Regions from separate parts of the Homo sapiens genome. Here all the other regions are linked to region 3. The links are contacts of gene promoters, found by promoter capture Hi-C in blood cells and fetal thymus (Javierre and others, 2016). All regions are on one chromosome and are shown on one strand. Each heading gives the region's core, a stretch centred on a gene start or on the middle of the fragment in contact. The rest is flanking DNA. Distances are from core to core; before and after follow the strand shown.

Region 1 (4,135 bases), core at 1,377-3,876, 380 kb after region 3:
AAGGAAAAAAAAATTGGTATTTGAATTTCAATGTGCATAACAACTCTAGGGTAGTTGCTATATTTATCCCCAGTTTACAGGCTGGGTATAGTGAAATCTAGTAGATTGATGGGAGAATAGAGCAGATACCTCTGAGATGCACGCACATCACTTTGGCACACCTCTTGCTTTCGCTGTAGCTGCGGTGAACAGTTGTATGTGAACTTAGAGCTCCCTTTGCACTGCTCAAACACTCCACATGCCTTCTGACATTCTGCTTCAGGCACTTTTCCAGAGCTCACTCAACTAGGAAGCACAGCCTGCGAATACACAGGGCAAGTTAGCAATCCCAGAAAAACCCTTAATGATGCTGGACAAGAGTTTGAGGATAAAGGTTCCAGTTTCCCATCTTTCAAGTGGACAATTAGAGGAGGAATTCTTTACTCTTTCCTGGAGGTCCCAGTGCTCATAGCATCAACCTTTAGAACACTTCATATTGTCATTTCCTCCTATCCTGTCTCACTCCTTGGGTTCTTTTAGTACTGCTTCCTGGGATCATCTCCTGAATAAATGTGCGTTCGAGTCCTTGTCTCAAGCCCTGCCTTCAGGGAAACCCAAACTAATGAGAGGGAGACAGAACTTTCAGGCAATGAGAATGTGTCTTATATTCTAGTAGTGAATATTAGTAGTCTACTCAACTGAAATCCTTTAGATGTTAGAGGATGGCCCAGATGAGCATTTTTGTGATGAAATCCCATTCTGTTTTCAGTGGTGGCTGCACATTTCTTATTTCTACTTCAAAGAAGCTTCCTCTCAGAGCAACTATGCTGTGGGGCACAACGTTTTCGTGTGTCACTGAAGTGCCTAATTTTAGATAGACTAAGTTGTTTATATAACTGTAGCTATGTGTGGCCAGGAGGTAAAACATGGTAAATATCACGGTTATCAGCCTGTAAGGAGGACCTGGCAATGCATGTCCCTCAGATTATCAACTAAAACAAGCACTTGGAGCCATGCAAATAAAAGAATCCTTAGAAGTATGCCACATACAATAAATGATTTTATTAATTACTCAACTTTTTTTTTGACACAGGGTCTTGCTCTACCACCCAGGCTGGAGTGCAGTGGCACGATCATGGCTCACTGCAGACTTGCCCTCCCAGGCTCAAGTGATCCTCGTACCTCAGCCTCCCTAGTAGTTGGGACTACAGGCATGCGCCACCACACCCAGTTTATATATATATATAAATTTTTTTTTTGAGATGGAGTCTCGCTCTGTTGCCCAGGCTGGAGTGCAGTGGCATGATCTCGGCTCACTGCAACCTCTGCCTCGTGGGTTCAAGCGACTCTTCTGCCTTAGCCTCCTGAGTAGCTGGGACTACAGGCAAGCGCCACCACGCCTGGCTAATTTTTGTATTTTTAGTAGAGATGGGGTTTCACCATATTGGCCAGGCTGGTCTCGAACTCCTGACCTTGTGATCTGCCCACCTCAGCCTCTCAAAGTACTGGGATTACAGGTGTGAGCCATTGTGCCCATCAATTTATGTATATTTTGTAGAGACAAGGTTTCACTATGTTGCCCAGGCTGGTCTAGAACTCCTGAGGCCAAGCAATCCTCCCACCTTGGTCTCCCAAAGTGCCGGAATCACAGACATGGGTCACTGTGCCTGGCAATAAATATTTATTTAGTGACTTCTGTGTGCTAAGCAACATGCTAGATGATAGCACATGATGACAGAACATGTTACTGATGAGCAACATGGAGCTTCTCTCCAGTTCCTGGTGCTACTGCCTTGTTCTGAGCCACCAACATTTCTTTCCTAGACTACCACAATTGCTCCTTAAGTAGTCTCCCCACTTCTGCTCTTGAATCCTTCTAATCTATCTGCCAGTCAGCAGCCAGGTGTGCTTTTAAAAATATGGAACATAACATGCTTTTCTTAAAACATTTCAATGGGTTTCCATTGACCTTGGAATAAAATCCAAACTCTTTAACATGGCCTGCAAAGCTCTAATGACTTCATGGCGCAGCACTTCCTCCCTCCTCTCTCCCCATGATGTGTCAAGCTTTTTTTTTTTTTTTTTTTCCACTGAAGGGCCTACACATGCTATTCCTCCTGCCTGGAATGCTGTCTCCTTGATTATGTGCCCAGATAGTTCATTCTTATCTTTCAGGTCTCAGCCCAAGATCAAGATCACTTCCTCAGGCCTTTCCTTACCTCCAAGTTAAAATGGTATTCCCTTGATATTATCTCCTAAACACCTTGCTCTTTACCTCCCTCACACGAATGAAAGTTTACAATAATATATTTATCCAGGTGTGGATTTACTTAAAAGTTGTGTCCCCCACTACAGTCTATGTTCTACAAAGACTGTAACATGTAAGCTTTGTTTTTCTTCATCTATAAAATAGATATAATACCTACTGGATCTTCTTCAGTATGGATGTGAAGAAAGCATTACATAATAAACATAAATGTGTCTAATAGTTAATGAAGTGCAATTCAGATTAAAGATGTCTTTGGGCCAGGCATCATGGCACATGTCTATAATCCTAGCACTTTGGGAGACTAAAATGGTTGGATCCCTTGAGGCCAGGAGTTCCAAACCAGCCAACGCAGCATAGCGAGACCCCATCTCTACAAAAAAGAGAAAAGAAAGAAAAATGTTTTCATGGCTCAGAACACCTGAATGCAAGGTAACTCACCAGGAAAGGAGTGTAAGTTAGTTGAATAAAGCAATTGGAACACACGAAGTTTCAGGTTTTATTACATTTTTATTATGTTCAAATAGTGTTGAGGTAATTTATTGTTAACAACAAGAACAATACATAGCTTCCTTGTCTTTTAAATCTTTCAAATACAAATAATTCATGTTAACAAAAATTTATATGATGTAAGAAAGCTTCCCAGAAGAGCCTCTCTTAGCCATTTGGGCCCACAATAAATTATCATCCTTGGAATCTCTGGATTTTGAGGCAGAGTGATAGAGAAGACAAGTAGGAACTGGGGCACTGGGTGATACGTGTCAGGTTCTGACCAAATGAATTCAAAGAAAGGAATAGGGTGAGATTAAGTATTTGGATATCAGGCTTAAAATATAGCCAGAGGGAGGCTGGGCATGGTGGCTAATGCCTGTAATCTCAGCACTTTGGGAGGCCAAGGCAGGTGGATCACCTGAGGTCAGGAGTTCGAGACCAGCCTGGTCGATATGGTGAAACCCCATCTCTACTAAATATACAAAAATCAGCCAGGTGTAGTGGTGGGCGCCTGTAATCCCAGTTACTCGGGAGGCTGAGGCCAGAGAATCGCTTGAACCCGGGAGGTGGAGGTTGCAGTGAACTGAGATCGTGCCACTGCACTCCAGACTGGGTGACAAGAGTGAGACTCCTCAAAAACACACACACATATATAGTCAGAGGGGACCAACACACCAGGTTGGAGGACAATGGTTCTGAGGCCAGCCCCAGAACCTTGGAGAGCGCCACAGACACACCCCCCCCCCCCCCCCCACTGAGTCGGAGCTAGCACCTTGGACAGCACCACGGCTTCTCTGTTTTCTACTGCTGTCCTTTGTACCTGGATGACACTAAACACAGGTTGTAGTGGTCACTGTTAATTTCTTGGGGCTTTCCACTCCGGTGTACCTGGCAATTGTAATCCTCTAAAATCAGCAGTCTTTTACAAGGTTCTTTATGACACGGTGGGGGTTGAGATTCTTTCTCTTCCTTCTAGAAACTTCAGCATCAGAGCTGATAATTGGACCGATTCCCTTGGGAGGTCTATGGGATTGGTACCTAGTATCATTGTGTTATGCCAGAGGCCAACGTCCTTCAAGTTAGGGGAAAATGTGTAATACCTGGTCATACTATGTAAGGAAGAATGCTCAGGGCTCTTCCTAGGCACATATAAGCAAATTATCAGGCAATACATGTGAGAAAGAAGGTATGTTGTATTCATTTGGAGACAGGCTGCTTGATTCTTTTTCATGCCCTCTCCTCACGTGCTAACCCCCACCTGTTAACCTATTTTCAGAAACATACAATGGATTGGATCTGCTTTCTCTGTGGTAAAAATCTTCCGAACTTGATTGTTGTTAGCATGTTTCTGTGAGGTTATGCACAAAAAACTTTGAAGGAGTTTGGCACTGTAGGTCT
Region 2 (4,238 bases), core at 1,473-3,972, 290 kb after region 3:
GACTAATCAGAAACTCAAAAGAATGCAATCATTTGTCTCTCACTTACCTGTGACTTGGAAGCCCCCTCCCTGCTTGAGTTGTCCCACCTTTCCAGACAGAACCAATGTTTATCTTACATATATTGATTGATGTCTCATGTCTCATGTCTCCCTAAAATGTCTAAAACCAAGCTGTGCCCCAGCCACCTTGGGCACATGTTGTCAGGACCTCCTGAGGCTGTGTGATGGGTGTGTGCCCTCAACATTGGCAAAATAAACTTTCTAAATTTACTGAAACCTGTCTCAGATATATTAGTTTCACAGTACCTCATCTTCATCTGAGACCTCCTCAGCCTGGACTTCACTGTCCATATCACCATCAGCATTTTGGTCACAACCATTCAAGAAGTCTGTAGGAAGTTCCAAACTTTCTCCCATCTTCCTATCTTCTGGGCCCTCCAAACTGTTCCAATCTCTGCCTGTTATCCAATTGCAAAGTTGCTTACACATTTTCAGGTATCTTTATAGTAATGCCCCACTTCTATAGTACCAATTTTCTGTATTAGTGCATTCTCACACTGCTATGAAGAACTACCTGAGACTGGTTAATTCATAAGGAAAAGAGGTTTAATTGTGCTCACAGTTTTGCAGGCTGTATAGTTTTCTGCTTCTGGGGAGGCCTCAGGAAACTTACCACATGGCAGAAGGTGAAGGGGAAGCAGGGACATCTTCACATGGCCAGTGGGAGTAGGAGGAGGTTCTACACACTTTTAAACAAGCAGATCTTGGGAGAACTCTATCACAAGAACAGCAAGGGGGAAGTCCACCTCCATGATTTAATCACCTCTCACCAGGCCTGTCCTTCAACACTGGGAATTACAATTCGACATGAGATTTGGGTGAGGACACAGAGCCAAATCATATTACTCATAGAGACAGAAAATAGATTAGTTACTTCTAGAGCTAGAGGTGAGGCCATATGTGGGAGATGGAGAGAGATGGCTAATGGGTACAGAGTTTCTTTTTGGAGTGATGAATATATTCTAAAATTGATAATGGTGATGGTTACACAACTTTAAAGAAAGTAAAAACCATTGAATTGTACAATTTAAGTGGGTTGAGTTGTGTGGTATGTAGATCATGTCTCAGTAATACTGTTTTTTTTGTGTGAGTGGAAAAAAAGATATAAAGGAGTCAGACTTTAGGGAGATCAACTCAAATATCTGTGTGGCATTTAAAGGATTTTTAGGTTTTTAAAGAAAAGAAAAAGCATGTAAGATTGCCAGTTTGTAGCTATCTGTTCATGGTGGAAAACAGTAACTTTTTCTCATGTTCATCCTAGTCACAAACATTGTGATGTTACTTCAGACATAATCATTCTAAAAGGCAGAGATAACTTCAGTTTTTTAAAGATAAGGAGTGCACACTTGCAGGAATTAGTTTGGGGACTAGAACTAGATGGGGTGACCTCATCATTGTTGTTTCATTTAAGGGTACAAAGTGCTTATTTTTCCTGACTCTGGTATTTCATAATGGAAGCAGGGCAAAGTGTCAGTTGGGCTTCCACACTGGGAGCAATAAGAAATTTCTAGAAAAACATCTGAGATGTTTCTGTAAATAGCAGAATTAGCATGTGTGATAAACTAGTGGTTTTTACACTTTTTCGTTCATGTGTTCCCTAAAATAATTTAGAATTCTTGACTGAAAATTCAAACATATATAAAAGTAGAAGCAGTAGTATAATTAGCACCAATATACCCATCACTCAGATTTAATGACTCTCAAGATATTGCCATTTTTGTTCCTTCCTTCTTTTTCTTGTTTTCTTTGCCAAAAGATTGTAAAGCAAATCCTGGACATCGTTAGTTCTCCCCATACGCCTCAGTACACATCTCTAAACACATAATTTCTTAACCACAGTGCCACATCACATCAAATAGTAAGATATTTTTGGTTGCCTCCAAAATGTCTTCTTATAGTTGGTTTATTTGGATCAGGATTCAAACAAAGTTTAAACATTACTTTTTAGTTTTATGTCTTAAGCTTAAATATCTCTTACTCTAGAGAAGGCTCCTGTTTTTTTTTTTTTCTTTTCATACCATTGACTTGTTGCAGGAATGGCTGTCTTACAAAATGTTCTACATTCTGGATATGTTTGTTGGCTTCCTTGTGGTGTCATTTAACTTGTTCATTTAACTAGAGCATGCATTTTTCAACAGAGATGATATTGGATATTTACTAGAAATTTACCTTCTTTTTTTTGTTGTTGAAACAGGATCTTGCTCTGTTGCCCAGACTGGAGTGCAATGACATGATTACAATCATAGCTCGCTGCAGCCTTGACCTCCTAGACTCAAGTAATCTTTCCACCTCAGCCTTCTGAGTGGCTCGGACCATAGTTACATGCCAACATGCCTGCCTAATTTGTGTATTTTTTGCAGAGATGGGGTCTCACTATGCTGCCCAGGCTGGTCTCCTGGGCTCAAATGATCCTTCTGCTTTGGCCTCCCAAAGTGCCAGGATGATTTTCTTTCTTCATCTTGTATTTCTGTTTTATGTTTTACCCCAGTTTTATGTTAACGTTATCCTTATCTTTGAAAGTATTTTATTGATCATACTTCTTTGCCACAAAAATACTGACTGATATGGCAGGTTGCTAGAGGTTCCCCAATGACTTTCTCTCCTTGTAGTATTAAAACTGCTGATGGGGCTGGGCGTGGTGGCTCACGCCTGTAATCCCAGCACTTTGGGAGGCCAGGGGGGCAGATCACCTGAGGTCAGGAGTTCAAGACCAGCCTGGCCAACATGGTGAAATCCCATCTCTACTAAAAATACAAAAATTAGCCAGGTGTGGTGGCAGGCACCTGTAATCCCAGATACTGGGGAGGCTGAGGCAGGAGAATCGCTTGAACCTTGGAGGCGGAGGTTGCAGTGAGCCGAGATCGCACCATCACACTCCAGCCTGGGGGACGAGAGCAAGACTTTATCTCAAAAAACAAACAAATAAACAAAACAAAACAACGACAACAAACTGCTGATGGAATGGATCAGGATCACTTTTCAGTGAATTTCTCAACTTTGGGGTTTCCAGACCATACAGGTAGGTTACATTTGAACACTAAACCCATGTAAAGGAATGCCTATGCTTACAAACTGTCATGGGAGAGTTTTCTTTTTTCTTCCCAGGGGCCAGAATAAGAAAGATTTCTTTATAATCCATCTTGTTACTCAGCCTTAACATTTGGAAGGGCTTGGCTTTGTGGAGAGGTCTAAATTTTAAATCCCTGCCTTACATGGGTCTAAGTCCTCCTCCACTAGTGTTAAACTCTAAACCCATGATTACTGAGATGTTACCAGCATAAGCATACTCTTATTTTCCAAATTTTCAGGCCCCTCTTTGTTTTTGCTTCTTTGGGGATTCTGTTACTCTCTTGCAAGCTTGGCTCTGAATTTGAAAATACGTTTGTTAGATTTTATCCATCATATCTAGATGTTTTGAAGCCCAAACATTTTCATATGATCTTTCTTGTGATGTTGCTTTGGAAGTCTCCATACTTCTCTTACATCTCTCCATCCTGATGTTTCCTCCTTCCGTTCTCCCCCTGCCCAAAATCTTTGTTCCATAGCAGGTACAATTATCTGCCATCATCAAACTGGTTACTTCTTTGCCTTAACTGTAACTTCGCTCTTCCCCTAAAGTCACTGTTTGTTCTTTTTTTTTTGAGACAGAGTCTCGCTCTCTTGCCAGGCTGGAGTGCAATGGCACCATCTCAGCTCAGGGCAACCTCTGCTTCCCAGGTTCAAGCAATTCTCCTGCGTCAGCCTCCCGAGCAGCTGGGATTACAGGTGCGTGCCACCACACCCAGCTAATTTTTGTATTTTTAGTAGAGACAGGGTTTCACCATGTTGGCCAGGATGGTCTCGATCTCCTGACCTCATGATCTGCCTGCCTTGGCCTCCCAAAGTGCTGGGATTACAGGCGTGAGTCACTGCACCCGGCCAACTCACTGTTTGAAATAGCTTTTTTTCCCACATAGCCCAGACTCTAACTTATTGTCTTTTTTCATATCTATACTCCCCCAGACTCACACAATAACCAGCTTCCTTTAAAACATGTGCTGAATTACTTTATATCCTTTCTGTGCACACTCCCTTATTTATTTAGGGCCTGATACATGGGAAATTTCAACACTTGGGAAATTTCAACATCTCTGTGGATAGCCTCACCCACACTCTAACCTCAAGGCCTCTTGCTTATT
Region 3 (4,383 bases), core at 1,162-3,661:
GCACCACTCCATGAAATTCTGGTTCCATTCCTCTAAACATGCCTGTTTTTTTCCCCGTATCTGTATGATTCATAAGAAAGTTCTCTTTCCCTTTTCTCTTATTGTCACCTTTCACAAATGCTTTTGTCCATTGTTATAAAGCAACTTTTTGGTCTGAACACTTCAGTGCACATGAACTTTGCTGCCTATTTCTTCCAACCAGGTTCCAGTTCTTTGGATCTGAAAAGAGCTTTCTATATTACATTCTGTTCTGTTTTTCCACTGTGACATCCCAGATATTTTCCTGAAACAAGGAATTCAAAGTGCCGGTATTACCTGAGTTTCCAGTGGTGCTTCTGAGCAGCTGTAGTAAGTGTCCTCCCGGCTGGCTCGGGAGCCTAGAAGATAGAAACAGGAATGGAGTAAGCGGCTGCCTGACCTCTAATTCTCCCCAGGGTCACCATGAAAGGTAATTCCAAAGCATTAGAGTATACACGTCCTTGCCTCATCTTCTTCTCCACAGGTAAACAGTACATTTACCCAGAGTGCCCAGGCAGTTGAACAGAGAGAAAAACACCTCTAATGCTCCAACTTGTAAGAAGACATCCCTGAAAAAAAATTTCCATGTATCAAATTTCATTGGTTTTCCGTAACATCATTTCCCTAACATCTACCTGTGCCTGTTCCCCAAAGGTTAAATTTGCTCCAATCCAAATTTCAGATAAACGCACAAATAAAAATGGAAGCTTTAACACTGTTCCCATATGAACAATGGGAAGCAGGAAAAATCAACTCTATGGATTTCCCCTTTATTCTGGGCCTATGAAAACATAAATGTGGAGTTATTTAAATGAAAAAAAGCAGCAGTAGATGAAAAAGAACAATTATTTATGTTTCTGGGGCAGAAAAAGAGGTCAGGGGGGAGTCACTCAAGGAGAAGACTTATTAAGAGATTTTCAGGGTTAAAAAAAAATGAGCATATGTGTGTGTGTATGTAAAATTTTCTGAGTGACAGTATACCAAGTGCTGAATCAGGTATGAAAGAAACTGAAAATATTGCCTTGGTCCTCAGCTGGCTAACACTGGTGAAACAAAACTACCACTAAACCATCACTATGTGAATCTACACTTGCCAGAAACGCAAAGCGAGAAAGAATGGAGCCTTAACCTCTGAAAACAGAGAAGGCAGTACAGATGAGTGAGTGCTCTGAGAAACTGACTATCCTGTCCAAGTCCTATAGAACACTCTAAGCCTCAACCCAAACCGAATGCAACATTTCTCTCTTAAGATTGGCAAGGTGCAGGTGTACACAAAAGGTGGAAGGATAGGAAAACACAGTGGGAAAACAAATTCCTAATTCCACAAACACATATTATTACACAGTGGCATAAATAATGACTCTTTTCTCCACCAGCAGCTTTAATAACTGAAAAGCAGCTTGCTTTCTTCTTCATTCCCAACAGAAACTGGGGTCACACTTCAATCCCAAAATGATCCTTGCTTTCTGTAACGAAAACTTTAAAGAAAACCTGCCTCCAGGTCACCGAGAAGTTAGCAAACACAGGCTAGTAAAGGGACCGAAAGAGGCAAAAGGTCTGCAGAAAGGAAAACAAAGAGCCAAGCCTGTGCGCCAGGTTCCCACAACGCAAAACACACTTAAGAATCCGAAACCTCCGCCTCTCGAGAACCTCACTGAGCATCTCAAAGGGAAAACGCAGCTTGTGACCCCAACCGAGCTAACAGGCTGTTCAGGAGAGTTGCCAACGCTGCTAGCAGAGCCCGGAACCAAGCTCCTCATCACGCTTGGGTCGGAATCAAGGGGCTGAACCCAGCTGGAGACCCAAATTCTCTGCGGGCGAGAGGTGCGCCCGACAGAAAGGGAGAAGCTTGTCAGAGACTACGGTTATGGCTCCCAGTGGTCCCGCAATCCTTGATCCAACAAGGGTAGGGCTCGAAATTGGGAATTCTGCGTTTAGAGAGTAGGGGGTCCACCCTTCACCAAGGGGGCAGGGGCGAGGCCCTGCAGGCGACGCTTCCTTGTTTGGGGGCCCTTCCCGCCCCACAGACTCGGACACCTTGGCTCGCAGGCACACAGCCTCCGGGGCGCCGGGGCCTGAGGCCACCTTCCAGGACAGGCCAGAGAGAAGCGCGAGGGGGTCTAGGTGCGGCCTCTCCCCTCCGTCTGTCCACGGTTCATGGGCCCCGGCCCGCCGGAGCAACGGGCTCCTGAGGGCCACTTCCTCCGGAGCACCGACCCCAGGCCTGCCTGGCCCCGGCGGCCACCACTTCCAGGGACACTCACCAGCCCATTTCACAGCGCTTCCCAGGATCCACTCACTCGTCCCGGAGCCGCCGCAACCGCGGCCGCCGCCATCCCCGGCCCCGGAGCCGCCCCACACCCAGCGCCCCCCACAGCCGGGCGCCCGGAGATGGCGTCAAGCTCGTCCCGCCCCCGGCGCGGAGAGATTGCGTCACGGCCGGGGTGGGAGAGCAACGCCCAGGACTCCCCGGGAAGGGAGGGTGCCACACTGCCTTCGCGTCGGGCGTTCCCTCTGGTGGGTGAACAAACTCCTCTCCCTGGGACCGGGTCACGTGAATAGGGCTGGGCCCGGCCCCCTCAGCCTGACCCCACAATGACCCCGCAATCTTTCCACCTCAGTAAATTTTGGGGGTTCCCAAACAGAGCCCCGGGGCGTGGTCATCGGCGACCCCCCATTTCCTGGACTTCTTGTCCTGACTTGTGCAGCCCCTTCTGGGGAACTTCGGGGGACCCCGAGGTGACCTAGGCTCAGGAGAAAAGGAGATACCTCTTACCTCTTGGGGACCCAGGTGGAGATAGGAAGTCTTCTTTTTTTCTTTTCTTTCTTTTTTTTGGAGACAGTTTCGCTCTTGTTGCCCAGGCTAGAGTGCAATGGCACGATCTCGGCTCACCCAACCTCCGCCTGCCAGGTTCAAGCAATTCTCCTATCTCAGCCTCCCGAGTAGCTGGGATTACAGGCATGCGCCACCACACCTGGCTAATTTTTTGTATTTTTAGTAGAGACAGGGTTTCTCCTTGCTGGTCAGGCTGGTCTCGAACTCCCGACCTCAGGTGATCCCCACACCTCGGCCTGCCAAAGTGCTGGGATTACAGGCGTGAGCCACCGTGCCAGGTCAATAGGAGCTCTGTAAGTGTTGAGAAGTGGCCCCCGAGGGAGCTAAGAGTGAACCCCACTCAGGATCTAGGGGAAGGTGACAAGGAGTGGAACACCTGAAAGTTTAGAGAGAGCCCGGGGTTTAGTACAGTGAGAAGCAGCTTGGTTTAGTGGAAAGAGGGCTTGACTACTCAGTGAAATATTATTCATTACAAATTAACTAATTATTCATTACAAATTAACTGGTCAACTTCATAGTAACATGAACATCTGATTAACTTAAGTGAAGACAAAAGTGAGCGCCAGTTGAATTTATGTTTGAATAACAACTGTGTTTTTGTTGTTGTTTGTTTTAAAGTATTAGGTTGGTGCAAAAGTAATTGCGGTTTTGGCCACCGAAATGGAGACTTTCAGTTTCTTCAAACTCTGTTCAATAAATAACAATTGGGCCAGGCGCGGTGGCTCACGCCTGCAATCCCAGCACTTTGGGAGGCCAAGGCCGGCGGATCACGAGGTCAGGAGATCGCAGACCATCCTGGCTAACACGGCGAAACCCCGTCTCTACTAAAAATACAGAAAATTAGCCGGGCATGGTGGCGGGCACCTGTACTCCCAGCTACTCGGGAGGCTGAAGCAGGAGAATGGCATGAACCCGGGAGGCAGAGCTTGCAGTGAGCCGAGATCGTGCCACTGCACTCCAGCCTGGGCAATAGAGTGAGACTCCGTCTTAAAAAAAAAAAAAGAAAAAAAAAGATATGTCATTGCAGTTGCGTGTATGTGTGTGTGTGTGTGTACATATAATTTTTTTTTTTTTTTAGCCCTGTCGCCCAGGTTAGAGTGCAGTGGTGCCATCTTAGCTCACTGCAGCCTCAAATTCCTGTGCTCAAGCAGTCCTCCCACCTCAGCCTCTGGGGTAGGTGCGATGATAGGCATGCACTACCATGCCCAGCTAATTTTTTAAAATTTCTTGCAGAGACAAGGTCTTGCTATGTTGCCCAGGCTGGTCTTAGACTCCTGTGCTCAAGTGATCTTCCCTCCTCGGCCTCCCAAAGTGCTGACATTTCAGTCATGAGCCAACCACACCCAGCGTCGGTTGTATGTATTTCTGTGTATCTGTACAGAAAAGGAGTAGAACACATAACTAATTAACATTGGTTATTTTTGGGAAGGAAAGTGGAATTGGGTGGTGGTCAAAAGGCAAAGAAACAACTTATATTATTGTTTGAATATTTAGGAGAATATTATCTTAGAAATAAAAAAAGTAAGTTG

The links. The method cuts DNA at HindIII sites, captures the fragments that hold promoters and counts their contacts. A CHiCAGO score of 5 or more calls a contact.
Region 1: a contact is called between a fragment that was not itself captured here and the fragment with the promoter of ATXN1L in region 3, in 2 of 17 cell types (naive CD4 T cells and total CD4 T cells). The highest score is 5.1, in naive CD4 T cells.
Region 2: a fragment that was not itself captured here is called in contact with the fragment with the promoter of ATXN1L in region 3 in 1 of 17 cell types (total CD4 T cells); the score reaches 5.4 in total CD4 T cells.

What each region holds. Positions count from the first base shown.
Region 1 is chr16:71,467,316-71,471,450 of GRCh38, reverse strand. LOC124903709 (a long non-coding RNA gene) reads right to left here. Exons shown (of 2, transcript XR_007065105.1): 2 at 2,736-4,135. Among named protein-coding and RNA genes, the nearest start is that of ZNF23, 7.1 kb to the right of the region's middle. The HindIII fragment of the contact is 518 bases long and covers 2,368-2,885 here.
Region 2 is chr16:71,555,650-71,559,887 of GRCh38, reverse strand. No RefSeq gene overlaps it. Among named protein-coding and RNA genes, the nearest start is that of TAT-AS1, 7.2 kb to the left of the region's middle. The HindIII fragment of the contact is 1,395 bases long and covers 2,025-3,419 here.
Region 3 is chr16:71,844,004-71,848,386 of GRCh38, reverse strand. ATXN1L (ataxin 1 like) reads right to left here and starts at 2,411. Exons shown (of 3, transcript NM_001137675.4): 1 at 2,283-2,411; 2 at 316-377. RefSeq lists enhancers at 1,924-1,993, 1,795-2,566, 2,784-2,833, 2,567-3,339 and a silencer at 2,214-2,523. The HindIII fragment of the contact is 5,556 bases long and covers 1,869-4,383 here.